Regions from separate parts of the Homo sapiens genome. Here region 2 is linked to region 1. The links are contacts of gene promoters, found by promoter capture Hi-C in blood cells and fetal thymus (Javierre and others, 2016). All regions are on one chromosome and are shown on one strand. The core of a region is centred on a gene start or on the middle of the fragment in contact, and the rest is flanking DNA. Distances in the headings are between cores, read along the strand shown. Region 1 holds the start of SRSF4 (serine and arginine rich splicing factor 4). Region 2 overlaps PHACTR4 (phosphatase and actin regulator 4).

Region 1 (7,152 bases), core at 2,261-4,760:
TGGCATGGTGGCACGGGCCTGTAGTCCCAGCTACTCAGGAGGCTGAGGCAGGAGAACCGTGTGAACCCAGGAGGCACAGGTTGCAGTGAGCCAAGATCATGCCACTGTATTCCAGCCTGGGTGACAGAGCAAAACTCTGTCTCAAAAAATAAAATTGAATTAAATTTAAAAAATAAAATAATAAATAGGAGGTTGGGTGCAGTGGCTCATGCCTGTAATCTCAACACTGGGAGGTCCAGAAGGGAGGATTGCTTGAGCCCAGTTGTTTGTTTGTTTCTTTTTTGAGACAAAGTTTCGCTCTTGTTGCCCAGGCTGGAGTGCAATGGCACAATCTTGGCTCACTGCAGCCTCCGCCTCCTGGGTTCAAGCTATTCTCCTGCCTCAGCCTCCCGAGTAGCTGGGATTATAGGCGCCTGCCACCATGTCTGGCTAATTTTTTGTATTTTTAATAGAGACAGGGTTTCACTATGTTGGCCAGACTGGTCTCGAACTCCTGGCCTCAGGTGATCCACCCACCTCGGCCTCCCAAAGTGCTGGGATTACAGGTGTGAGCCACTGTGCCTGGCCTGAGCCCAGTAGTTTAAGACCAGGCAGGAAAACAACGAGACTCCATCTCTAAAAAAGTAGAATAGGCTGGGCGCTGTGGCCTGTTTTTGAGATGGAGTTTTGCTCTTGTCACCCAGGCTGGAGTGTGATGGCACGATCTCGGCTCACTGCAACCTCTGCCACCTGGGTTCAAGCAATTCTCCTGCCTCAGCCTTTTGAATAGCTGAACTACAGGCCCACACAATCACACCTGGCTAATTTTTTGTATTTTTAGTAGAGATGGGGTTTCCCCATGTTGACCAGGCTGGTCTTGAATCCCTAACCTCAGATGATCCTCCTGCCTCAACCTCCCAAAGCGCTGGGATTACAGGCGTGAACCACCGCACCCAGCCACTAATTATTACTTTCAAAATAGATTTCTTGCCGGGCGCGGTGGCTCACGCCACCTCACCTGAGGTCAGGAGTTTGAGACCAGCCTGGCCAACATGGTGAAACCCAGTCTCTATTAAAGATACAAAAAAATTAGCCAGGCGTGGTGGCACATGCCTGTAATCCCAGCTACTTGGGAGGCTGAGGCAGGAGAATTGCTTGAACCTGGAGGCAGAGACTGCAGTGAGCCAAGATAGTGCCACTACACTCCATCTTGGGCAACAGACCAAGACTCCATCTCAAAAAAAAAAAAAAAAAGCCGGGTACAGTGGCTCACGCCTGTAGTCCCAGCACTCTGGGAGGCCGAGGCAGGCAGATCACGAGGTCAGGAGATCAAGACCAGCCTGGCCAACATAGTGAAACCCCTTCTCTACTAAAATACAAAAAAATTAGCCGGGCGTGGTGGCAGGTGCCTGTAATCCCAGCTACTCTAGAGGCTGAGGAAGGAGAACGCTTGAACCCAGAAGGCGTAGGTTGCAGTGAGCTGAGATCGCACCGCTGCACTGCAGCCTGGGCGACAGTGCGAGACTCAGTCTCAAAAAAAAAAAAAAAAAGTAGAATAAATAAAAATTTAAAAATAAAATCCAGAATCAAAGAAAAATAAAGGATGGATAAATTGATCCCATAAATATCTAATGTTTTTGCATGGCTAAAAAACACTCTTGGCAAAGTCAAAAGTCAACAAATGGAAAAAATATTTGCAACTCATTTGACAAAGAGCTGATTTTCCTAATATATAGTGAGCACCTATGAATAAGAAAAATGGGTAAAGGATATACACAGACAGAAATAGGAAAATATATCTCAAACATATGAAGAAAGACTCATATCTCTGCAAAATATGATATTTGCAAATTAAACCACTTGGAGATAACATTTTTCACCTCTCAGATTGGCAAAGATCAAAAAGTTTGATAACACGGTGTTGATGAGGATATGAGGAAACAGCCACTTAAGGGGAATTGAGCAATAACTTATCAAAACTCTGACCCAAATATCCTATTTCTAGGAATAGATGATATATATAGAGAGAGAGAGAAAGAGAGAGAGAGAAATGCAAAGTTACTGCAGCAGTGTAATAACAAAAGGTTGGAACTTATTTCAATGTCCTTCACCAGGGCACTGGCTAAATAAATTACTGTGTATAAAATGGTATGAACCATAAAACTAGTCCTTTTATACTCTTAAGGAATGATTTTCAAAATATATTTTGTGTAGAACCATATGTATAGTATCCTACTATTTGTTTTATAAGGGTAAATTAACCTCCTAAAGGACATTTCAGAAACTGCCTCTGGGAAGAGAAACTAAGTGGCTGGTGGACAGCGAAGACTTTTCACTGTGTATCATTTGAACCTTGAGTTATCCTTTCAAAATATTCAAAAAACAAAAACAAGCAAAGAAACAAAACCCTTTATGGTTCTAGGTACATGGCGTTAGTGAGAAGGGAACCAATATTTATTGAGCTCTTACCATGTTTCAGACACTGTTCCAAGTACTTTCACATACACTACCCCATTTAGTGACCTGTGTAATCCTTGAGATGGGTATACATTATTCTAATTTTACAGGTTAGAAAATAGACTGGATAGGCCAGGCGCAGTGGCTCACGCCTGTAATCCCAGCACTTTGGGAGGCCAAGGCGGGCGGATCACCTGAGGTCTGGAGTTTGAGACCTGCCTGGCCAATATGGTGAAACTTCCTCTCTCCTAAAAATACAAAAATTAGCCGGGCGTGGGGGCGGGCGCCTGTAGTCCCAGCTACTCTGGAGGCTGAGGCAGGAGAATCGCTTGAACCCGGGAGGCGGAGGTTGCAGTGAGCTGAGGTCGCGCCACTGCACTCCAGCCTGGGCGACCGAGCGAAACTCGTCTCAAAAAAAAAAAAATAGGTTGGATTGTGGTCAAGTAATTTACTCGGCGTCATGCCTAGTCTAGCTCCAAAGCTCCAGCCTTCTCCGCTTCTCACACTGCTTCTATTTAAGCAGTGTCCTCTTAAAAATAATACTGGTCTCATTTATTGGGCACTTGATATGACAAAACTACTAAGTGCTTTATGTACGTATTCTCATATAATTCTCAAGACAACTCTGGAAGGTAGGAACTACTCTCCCCCTTTTACAGAAAAGATAAAGGAGGGTCCGAGACATCGCGCGTAACAAGCCCAAGGTCACGGGTACACAATCGTTTGGAAGCTAGGTTTGATTCCAAAGCTCCAGCTCCGAAATCCAAACCACACCCGGTTCAAAGGACAAAAGCACAAACGCTCGCTCGCTGGGCTCTAGGAGGTGCGGACACTTCCGGGGGAGGGGCGAAGCCAGCTGGCTGCGGAAGGCGGTGCAGGAACCCCTTTGGCGAGCTCGCGCGAGGACGTGCCGCAGCGCCGCCTGTCGATCACCTTGCCCCGCCGCACGTCGGCGCGCCCCCGGGCAAGCTCCTCCCCCAGTCCTGGCCGAGCGGGAAGCGAACGCGCGCTCTCTCCGGTTACCTTCCGCCTCGGGGAAGGGCGGGGGAAGTGGAAGCGCGCGCTCGCGAGCTGCGTGCTCGCGTACGTCGCCGGGGTTCGGCTGCGTCCGTCCCGCCGCCCGCCCGTTGCCGCCGCCGCCGCTGCCGCCGTGCTCTCGCTTTGCCCGCCGCCGCCTAAGGGGGGCTGGGGCCGGGGCCAGCCATCACTGCCGTTGCCGGGATGCCGCGGGTGTACATCGGCCGCCTGAGCTACCAGGCCCGGGAGCGCGATGTGGAGCGCTTCTTTAAGGGCTACGGGAAGATCCTGGAGGTGGATCTGAAGAACGGGTGAGGAGGGCGAAAGAGGGTCCGGCCGGGCGGGGACAGACCCCATAGGTGGTGGGGAGGCCGCGGGGACGGGAGAGGGACGCCTGGTCCGCGCGGAGCGGCTACCGGCCTGGCCAGGCTCCGCCATAGTGGCGGCGCCTCGGGGGCGCGGGTAGGCCCCGGTTCCCACTGCGCCTGCGCGGGTGGGGGTGGTGGAGGCATAATGGGAGCTGTGCTGAGGCCCTGAGTGGGACGGGGAGAAGGAAAGCCCGAGTGGGGCTGGTGCTCCGGGCAGGGGGGCACAGCTCCAGGGCGCCCGGGAGACCTGGGTTTTCCCTTCCTAGGCCCGGAACTGGGGCCCTATTCGTTTCTGGGTAGACACCAACCTTTCCCGCTCTGAGGACTACTGGAAATAAACAGGATTTCCTGCTCCCTTTCACCTCTTGCCCGGTCTCATGGATCAGACGGTCACAGCGCCGTCTTCCCCGAGGACTGGAGCCTTGGAGGGAGGCCCTTTTTAGCCGTGTGCCACGCTTTTTTGGGCGGGAGACTCCAGTTTGAGTAGTCTAGTGACAGTTTCGAAAGTATCGTCTTGCCGTGCTGAAAGCCTTCACCGTTCCCTCTGCAAGAGTAAATTAAAGTCTTAACTTCTTATCTTTAAGACTCCGTGCAGAGTTTCCACGCTGTGGTTTCCGTTTTCCAACTTACCGAAAAATTGCTTGGCCGTTGTAGAATTTGTTAGGAGAATAGTGGCCACCCTGGCTAGTATCTGCGTCTGGTTAACGCAGACGGAGACGAAATTGTTAACTTACTGCCTCCCCCAGAGTATGATCTATTACTTGTATTCTTAATCTACTTCGGCAAAAATAGTGCCAGCATGAGCTACAGGTTTTAGGGAAAACTGTTGAGGAATCAGGCCTGGAGAAAATACTCAACGGGGAAAACTGGGAACCAGATGTTAGGTAGGGCTTGGAAGGCATGGATATAAAATTAAAAGGACTGGGGTGACATTTTAGGGCACTAAACCTTGGGTGTTAGAGAACTCTTGGCTTAAAAAAGAAACTCTACTTTGCAACAGTTGTAATATAGCTACCGTTTACTCCCCAGGGTTATACTAGTAACTGACACCTGAAACATTTTGAAAGTTACCTAAGTATGTTTCACGTATGAGAAAACTGGTAGCTACCGTATTCTCAAATGATGATTTGGGTTTAAAAAGCCATTTCAAATTAATTATTAGAATCGTTTTCTTTCTGAGGACGTCTTTAGTAAAGTACTGATTTCTTTTACAGTAAAAGGCTTTAAAAACTACTCCTTTTCTACAGTAAAACGTTCAGTTCTTAAGGATATATTGAAGTGGCGGGTAGACGTTATTGTATACATACCATATATGTGAAAGTTGAAACTCCAGTTTTTTTCAGAGCCCAGCTAAATTGACAGCATAACTAACTTTTGTGGACAAAGTGTGGATTTTGAAGCCAGCCAGGCCTAAGTCAAATCCTGGTTCCACCACTTACTACGTATGGGCAAGTTACTTCTCTGAACCTGGTTGTTCATTCATGTGGAAAAGGAAGATTAGAGATAATAAATGTAAAGCATTTGGCTTAGGCAGTAAGTGGCAGCTATAATCAGAGGGATGAGGAAACATCTTTGCTTGTTGGTGTTTGATAACATAAAGCGTGTTTGGTGAGGTCTTTTCTAATGTTACTCAGGTGATAGTGTGCAGGAAATGACAAGACTGTTAATGGGAAACTGATTCATCAACCAAATGTATTGATAACCCATCAACAAAATGTCCACCACTGTGCTAAATGAATTGGGGGAGGAGGCAGAAAACAGTTCTGCTCTTGAATAAATTAAGCATTATGACATGTGCACTTTGAATTAAGAAATGTTTGCTTTCGCTTTAAACTCTAGTAAAACTTGGAATGATTTGCTTGAAAAGATGTGTTGAAATGGCTTTGAAGAATAGATTAGAGCTTGAAGTGAAGAAATTTAGGTTTCTGGGAATAGTATATGTCGTAGTTGGGGCTCAGGCATGGTGACTTGTGCCTGCAATCCCAGCTGAAGTGTGAAGATTACTTCAGGCCAGGAGTTTGAGACCAGCCTGACCCCATCTCTAAGAAAAAAATTTTTTTAATTAGCCACGCGTGGTGACACTCGCCTATAGTCCTAGCTACTTCAGAGGATGAGGCAGGAGGATCACTTCAGCCTAGGATTTCAAGGCTACAGTGAGCTATGATTGTGACACTGCACTCCAGTCTGGGTAACAGCAAGACCCCCATCTCTAATAAAATAAGTACAATGCTGACTTTTTTTGCTTTTTGATGAATAGGGAAAAAATATTTTTTTAATGTCATAATTGGTGTTGAAGACATGGTCCAGTAAGAAGCAATTATGAAAAATAATAAACAATCTAGCATGGATCAAGCCTTATGAAGAATCTAGAAATTTAACAACATAAACCAGAAACAACGACTATTAGATTTTACACTAAAAATTCGAAATCAATGAGTAGGAATTCAAAGGCTCTGGAAGGAAGAAGTGAGCAACCCAAAAGGAAGATGGAGCGATAAGAGGAAAGAGCCTTTCAGGACCCTAAATACCTGGGTGGTTTTTTTAAGGAACTGTTCATTCTTACAGTTATGCTGCCAAACCATGATATGCATGAAATGTCATTGAAAGTCAAGGTTGAAATGAAGTCATTTTAGAGTTTCAAAGACAGGTATGACAGTCACCAAACAGCACACAATATGACCTCCTGGCATCATTGAGGAATCATTACAGAGGAAAACGACTTCTGGGAAGAAGACCAATGGTAAAGATGTATTTCAAGCAAAAATTGCCTGTATGGCAAAAACGCTGGAGAGTCTGAAAGGAAGGAGTGAGTACAAAAGAAAAAGCATAACTTAGCTACGTATGTAAGCTTATAGTCCCCTAGCAGAAGGGCAGTGGATCTCCCTACTGGGAAGCATGTTTGAACATATCTAGATTGTGATTAGTAATTGAAACTCAGAGGCCGGGCGCGGTGGCCTGTAATCCCAGCACTTTGGGAGGCCGAGGCGGGCAGATGACGAGGTCAGGAGATCGAGACCATCCTGGTTAAGATGGTGAAACCCCGTCTCTACTAAAAATGAAAATAAAAATTAAAAAAAAGTAGCCGGGCATGGTGGCAGGCACCTGTAGTCCCAGCTACTCGAGAGGCTGAGGCAGGAGAATGGCGTGAACCTGGGAGGTGGAGCTTGCAGTGAGCCGAGATCGTGCCACTGCACTCCAGCCTGGGCGACAGCGAGACTCTGTCTCAAAAAAAAAAGTAATTGAAACTCAGAAACAGATTTTGGATGCTTTAGATAGGTCTTTGAAGAATTGCTGGAGTTCAGATTTGTAGAAGTGAGATGTATCAGTAGAT
Region 2 (7,152 bases), core at 2,417-4,916, 770 kb after region 1:
CACATTGATAAGGGCTCAGTTTGCAGCAATAAATTCAGATGGAAACCAGTCCATGCATTTAGTCAACCTATCCCACTTGCTATGATTTTCTAGGAGTAAGACGTAGTCAGAAGTGATAAAAAGTGGTGAGAGGACACAGGCAATAGTCCAGAATGTCAGCATTACTGCCTTTCCAGGCTTCTACTACTACTACTACAGCTCATCTTTTTCTACTGACAGAAAAAATAATTACATAATATCTGTTATTCAGGTTCACAGAATTTGGTGCCTGTGTACTCTGTTTTCCTTAAGATTGGTAATTCTATCTTATGCAGAAAAATTAAAACCACTGGAAGAAACACATACAGATATGTATTGTGTGTTTACTACTGGGCAGTGGGTAGGATGTAACAGTAAAAACATGTTGACCTTTATACCCCTTCAGGAAATAAGATGACAGAGGATATTTAATATATATTTATAATAATGCTATATTAAATTTCTCATCAAGACCACTAGGAGAAAAAATGGAACTAGCATCAATTTTGGCATCATGTAATACTGGAGGAATTTAACTCCTACACCCTGAGGACCTCAAAACTAATTAAGCTTGTATTTTGTCTTTCATTCTTAAAGAGGAGGGAGGGAAGGACTATGTTACTGGCATATTTTGAGCTTCAAGTGATAACAACATAACATCAAAAATGTTTTCCCATGAACTTTGAAGTGCATTATGTCTTGAGTTTGGCTCCTTGGCAAATGTTCTTAAACAGCTAGAAAAAAACTCCTTTATAGCATCATCATAATAATTCATAAATTCAGATACAGAATAAGAAAAAAATAATTGACTTTGTTTAGGAAATAATAAATTCTATTTGCTACCTTAACAAACTACTTCTCCTATTTCCTATATGATACAAATTCTAATCAAAAGGAGGTATTATCTTATAAATTTGTTTCCAGAATGCCATGCATATGAATAAAGCCTTTGCAACTAGCTTTAAATTCAGAATGCAAACTGATAATCTACATCTCATTAAACAATCACCAAACACACCCAAAAAAGTATTTTCAACAAGTCATGTTCATATTTATACAAGAGAGGGTATATAGAAACTTAATGAAGTATTCAGATGATTTAAAACATTTTGGGAAGGCAATTAGTATGCAGATCCTCCTCCACCTCAAAAATCTTTAGAAGGAAGTCACAACTCAGTACTTTTAAATAAGTGATATGCTAGGGTTTCAGTCCCTTTTGTTCTGGTATGCTCTTGGGAGAATGACTGTTAACTCCATAAGCAGTTGAAAAGGGAGGAAGAAAGCAGAAGCACGAATTAGCTATTTTTGAAAGTAGTGGGGTGTGGAGCATCATGGTAGCACAAATTCTATGCACATCCTCTCTGGATCCTTCCTTCACTCAGCACTTATGTACAGTGTAGCCATGAATTTTTTTCTTTCTTTTCTCTCTCTTTTTTTTTTTTTTGAGACAGAGTCTCGCTCTGTTGCCCAGGCTGGCGTGGAGTGGCGTGATCTTGGCTCACTGCAACCTCCGCCTCCCGGGTTCAAGCAATTCTCCTGCCTCAGCCTCCCAAGTAGCTGGGACTACAGTAGCACGCCATCATGCCTGGGTAATTTTTTGTATTTTAGTAGAGGCGGGGTTTCACCTTGTTGCCCAGGCTGGTCTCGAATTCCTGAGCTCAGGCAAACCGTCCACCTCGGCCTCCCAAAGTGCTAGGATTACGGGGGTGAGCCACCGCGCCCAGCCTAATTTTTTCTTTTAACTGGTAGTATACACCAGTATAGGTTAACAAGTAATACATTCATTGTATTTTATCCAGGTCTCTGAAATGAGATGAAAGGGAGGTGACCTAAAATCAGGAGAAGCAAGGTAAAAGCTGTTTGATTCCTCTATCACTTTCCCTACTCCATGATCTTCAATGTCTGTCCTACACTAACTCTGGCGGAATTTTGGAATCTGTTTTCCAAGAAAGTGTAAAGCAAATGGTCTCTGGAAAGGGGTCGCAAAAGGCAACTGATGGTAGGGATATGGTACAAAAAATGGAAGGGGTTGGGTGCAATGGCTCATGCCTGTAATCTCAACTTTTGGGGAGGCCGAGGTGGGAGAATCACTTGAGCCCAGGAGTTCAAGACCAGCCTGGGCAACATAGGGAGACTGCATCTTTACAAAAAGTAAAAAAATTAGTCAGGCATGGTGGTATGTGCCTATAGTCCCAGCTACTTGGGAGGCAGAGGTGGGAGAATTGTTTGAGCTCAGGAGGTCGAGGCTGCGGTGCTTTTTTTTTTTTTTTTTTTTTTGAGACAGAGGAAGACTGACCCCAAAAAATAAAAATAAAAAAATAAAATGAAAAAGAAAATAAGGCCAGCTGCAGAGGCTCATGCCTGTAATCTCAGCACTTTGGTAGGCCGAGGCAGGCGGATCACCTGAGGTCAGGAGTTCGAGACCAGCCTAGCCAACATGGTGAAACCCTAAAACTACAAAAATTAGCCAGGCAGTGATGGGTGCTTGTAATCCCAGTTACTCGGGAGGCTGAGGCCAGGAGAATCATTTGAACCCAGGAGGCAGAGGTTGCAGTAAGCTGAGATGGCGCCACTGCACTCTAGCCTGGGTGACAGAGCAAGACTCCATCTCAAAAGATAAAAATAAAGTAAAATAAAATACAAATACAAGTAAAATTAAAAATGGAAGAGAATTAAGTGAAAATATGCATAATTAATGCTGAATGCAGCAGTCTCTTCAGTCAGTTTTCTTCACCCCTTACCATCCAAACACAGTGGGAAGACTGTGCCCCTTAGACCCTGATACTGATATGAGAATGTTCATCAACAATAAGGCCAAGAAGCTCACCCAAAGGCAACCTGCCTATACATTTAAAGCTTCTAACTGGCTATTTAGTCCCTCACTTTTAACCATCAGCAGACAGTTAATTATTACTAGACATCAGAGAAAAACTCTAACATAAAAGAAACCAAATCAATATTTAAAAACAATGTTAGGAAAAAAAGAGACTATGCAGGGCAAGGAAAATCTGTTGAAAGAATGAAAGGATAGTATAAAAAGAAACATGCAGAGACTTCAAAAAGACCTCCTGGAGATTAAACTCTAATAGTAGAAAAGAAAAATTTAATAAAAGTAGAAGATAAAGTTGAATAAATCTTGCAGGAAACATATCTAAAGGAAAAAGAAATGAATTAGATAATTATTCCAGGAGGTTCAACATCAAAAAGCTACTGGCAACCAAGACAGAGGAAGACATGAGGGTTTAGGAAACAAAGGAGCTAACACAGGAAAGAAGCAAAGCTGTCAGGAAAATGGAGACTGGATAACCCAGGATGACAGTTGCGTACCACCTCTACAGACTGCAAGGCCACCTGTACACAGACTGGAGCAATGTGACTCAAGAGATATATTGAAAGCTGTCATCACCAATATCTCTGCTGCTATTTATCCTTTTTAAAGCTAAGAACACAGTACCCAGGTGAGCCTGGCCCTCAGCCTGTCTTGACTAAATGCTTATGGATTTCTTCTTTGAACATACTTGATTGCCTAATGAGTTCCAGACTCATTTCGCTCCACAAAAGTTTCTTTAACCCAGCGGTCCCCAACCTTTTTGGCACCAGGGACCAGGTTCATGGAAGACAATTTTTCTACAGACGGGGGTGTTGGGGTGGTTTGGGATGAAACTGTTCCACCTAATCACTGATCTGACAGGAGGTGGAGCTCAGACTGTAATGCTCACTGGCCCACTGCTCACCTCCTGTGGCCCGGGGGTAGTGGTGCAGGGTACTCCTGCTTAGGAGAAACCACAGAGCTAATCACTCCCTCTGACCATATTTCTGTCAAATGTCCAAGACCTAGTCCACACTGAAACCCTGCCCAATACAATCTCCAGGATTAAATCTTAACTTTACTCATGACTTCCATAGAAGGGCCTCTAGGAACCTCAGGAAAATGAAGCAAGTATAATCTGCTGATCTCTGGGGATCCCTGAGATCCTTTCAGAAGTCCAAGAGGTAAAACTAAATACATAAGAATACAAAAAAATTATTTGCCTTTTCCACTGTGTTGACACTTGCACTGATGGTACAAAAGCAATGGTGAGCAAAACTGTTAGCACCTTAACACAAATCAAGGCAACAGCACCAAACTGTAGCAGAAATCATTGTATTCTTCACAACTACACAGTTACAGTGAAAAATAAATTCAACTTTAAGAATGTCCTTGATAAAGCAATAAAAAATATTAGTTTTAATAAATATCAACCCTTTAGTACATATATTTTTATTACTGTTTATGATGAAACAGAAATATGTATAAAGCACATTTGTATACTAAGTATGATGGTTATCTCCAGGAAAGGCATTTGTGTGACTGAGTTGCAAACTGAACTAGACAGTTTTCTTCATGGAATACTATTTTTACTTGAAAGACTGAACAACAAGCTATGTTATTCAAGCTTAGATAGCTGACAGGCATTTTCTCAAAAGTAAGCCTGTCACTAATAAAGAAAATTAACAGTATTTGTTGCTAGTGATAGAATTCAAGCTTTCAAGTGAAATTCCTATTTTGGAAAATTTACATCCAGAATGAGCTTGACAGCTTCCCAACATTTAACATTTTTTTCAACGAGACCAATAGTGATATTAACGAACATGATATTTAAATATTATATAATGAAATGTGTAAGCATCTGTCCAGGTAGAAAAGGTCCTAGAGACCTTAGGTCTATCCTTCTGGTACTTTATTCGTAAAAATCCCTCACTACTTTTATTTCCAGAATACCACAAATAATTCTTTCTTTCTTTCTCTTTCTTTCTTTCTTTTGTTCATTCGTTCTTTCTTTCTTTTGTTCATTCGTTCTTTCTTTCTTTCTTTTGGGTGGTTTCTGTTTTCTTTTTTTCCTTTTTTATGTCATTTTTTACTTCAATAGGTTTTGGGGAATGGGTAGTATTTGGTTACATGAATACGTTCTTTAGTGGTGATTTCTAAGATTCTGGTGCAACCATCATCCAAGCCGTGTACACTGTACCCAATGTGTAGTCTTTTATCTCTTTTTCAATATTTCTACTTAATTATTAGCTAACTTGATTATAACAAAATTCTCACTCCACCAAAAGAAACAAACTCATTTTACATCCTCAATTCTTTTCTTTGTCAAATGACACTGAGTACACCAAATTCTTATCATATGTATATGTGTGTATATGTATAGTAAACAACTAAGAAAAAAATCATTATAACATTTAGAAGGAAAAATGGAGACAGAGGAGAATGGTAGTTAAATATGAGTCATTTCTGTTTTCCTATAAACTCCATATTATGATTGAATGAATGTTAATTTACAAATTCCAAGATTTAAATAAGTGTTTAGAAAAAAATAATCTCAGGCCGGGCTCACACCTGTAATCCAAACACTTTCGGAGGCCGAGGCAGGTGGATCATCTGAGGTCAGGAGTTCAAGACCAGCCTGGCCAATATGGCGAAATCCCGTCTCTATTAAAAATACAAAAATTAGTTGGGTGTGGTGGCAGGTGCCTGTAGTCCCAGCTACTTGGGAGGCTGAGGCAGGAGAATTGCTTGAACCCAGGAGGCGGAGGTTGCAGTGAGCCGAGATCACACCATTGTACTCCAGCCTGGGTGACAGAGCAAGACTCCACCTCAAAAAAACCCCCAAAAAACAAAAACAAACCAAAAAAATAAAAATAAAAAATAATCTCAGCCGGGCATGGTGGCTCACGCCTGCAATTCCCGCCACTTTGGGAGGCCACGGCGGGTGGATCACCTGAGGTCAGGAGTTCAAGACCAGCCTGGCCAACATGGTGAAACCTCATCTCTACTAAAAATACAAAAATTAGCTGGGCATGGTGGCAGGTGCTGGTAATCCCAGCTACTCAGGAGGCTGAGGCAGGAGAATCACTTGAACCCGGGAGGTGGAGGTTGCAGTGAAGTGAGACTGTGCCATTGCACTCCAGCCTTGGCGACAAGAGCAAAACTCCGTCTCAAATAAAAAAAAGAAAAGAAAAAGAAAAAAATAATCTCACTAGCACAGAACCCAAATTTCTACCTATCTTAGTAAACAATCAAAAGCACATTTCACTTTATGCCTCAATTGACTACTGGTCAACTATAACTTCTATAGCAACTCTCACGTTGATACTCCCTAGAAAATTTAAGTTATATTTAAGGTTAATTTCAGTTTAATTTAATTGTTTAATAATAAATTTGATTGATAAGATTATATTAAAATTTAGGTTATGTTTACTTAAGTGAAGCAAGGAGGTCACTCAGAATGAAAACTTAGGTTTCCAGTACAAACCTACGGAGTTGTCATGTATTATTCTAGTTTATCATATGGTCATGTTCTTTAGAATTTGTCACCAGACTACTATAATAAAACTCAGTTTACCAAATTCTTCAAGATTTAACCTGGTAATGAAGCTACAAACTTTAGGAATAAGTGGCTGGGCACGGTGGCTCACGCCTGTAATCCCAGCACTTTGGGAGGCCAAGGTGGGCAGATCATGAGGTCAGGAGCTCGAGATCATCCTGGCCAAGATGGTGAAACCCTGTCTCTACTAAAAATACAAAAAATGAGCTGGGTGTGGTGGCACGTGCCTGTAGTCCCAGCTACTCGGGAAGCTGAGGCAGGAGAATGGCTTGAACTCGGGAGGCGGAGATTGCAGCGAGCCCAGATCACCCCACTGCACTCCAGCCTGGGGACACAGCGAGACTCTGTCTCAAAAAAAAAAAAAAAAAAAAAAAAAAAAAAAAAATTTATGAAGAAGTACAGACTGCCCTCTTGTGTTCAAACTAAGGATGGATCTAATTGATGATGGATCTAATTGATGAACTAGGCATAATCCTAAAAACTACTCTTCAGGGGGGAAAGAAAGCCAAGGTCCTAAAGAAATTATCTAAGGTCGTTAAAAGCAGAAAAATTCTGATATTACAAAGTAATAAAGGGCAGTCTTCTCAAAGCAAGACAAAAGCTCTTAATCTGAGCCAGATGATTGCTAGTACTAGTAGCCCAAAAAGCCTAACCTCAGTTAGTATTATATAGTAGTATTTTTACTATACTTCCTCAAGCTGCACTGGCATAAAAAGGGATTCAGACTTCTTTCCGTGTGATGAAGGATCAGAAAATGCTTGAATCG

The links. The method cuts DNA at HindIII sites, captures the fragments that hold promoters and counts their contacts. A CHiCAGO score of 5 or more calls a contact.
Region 2: a contact is called between a fragment that was not itself captured here and the fragment with the promoter of SRSF4 in region 1, in 2 of 17 cell types (naive CD4 T cells and total CD4 T cells). The highest score is 5.9, in naive CD4 T cells.

What each region holds. Positions count from the first base shown.
Region 1 is chr1:29,178,258-29,185,409 of GRCh38, reverse strand. It overlaps SRSF4 (serine and arginine rich splicing factor 4), which reads left to right and starts at 3,510. Exons shown (of 6, transcript NM_005626.5): 1 at 3,510-3,764. The coding sequence starts at 3,658. It also overlaps a transcript of MECR not described here. RefSeq lists enhancers at 2,182-2,819, 3,162-3,391, 2,820-3,457, 6,976-7,152 and silencers at 3,462-3,671, 3,722-3,911. The HindIII fragment of the contact is 7,304 bases long and covers 1-6,671 here.
Region 2 is chr1:28,409,571-28,416,722 of GRCh38, reverse strand. The region is part of intron 2 of PHACTR4 (phosphatase and actin regulator 4); the gene reads right to left. Among named protein-coding and RNA genes, the nearest start is that of PHACTR4, 43 kb to the right of the region's middle. RefSeq lists an enhancer at 6,700-6,759. The HindIII fragment of the contact is 1,580 bases long and covers 2,877-4,456 here.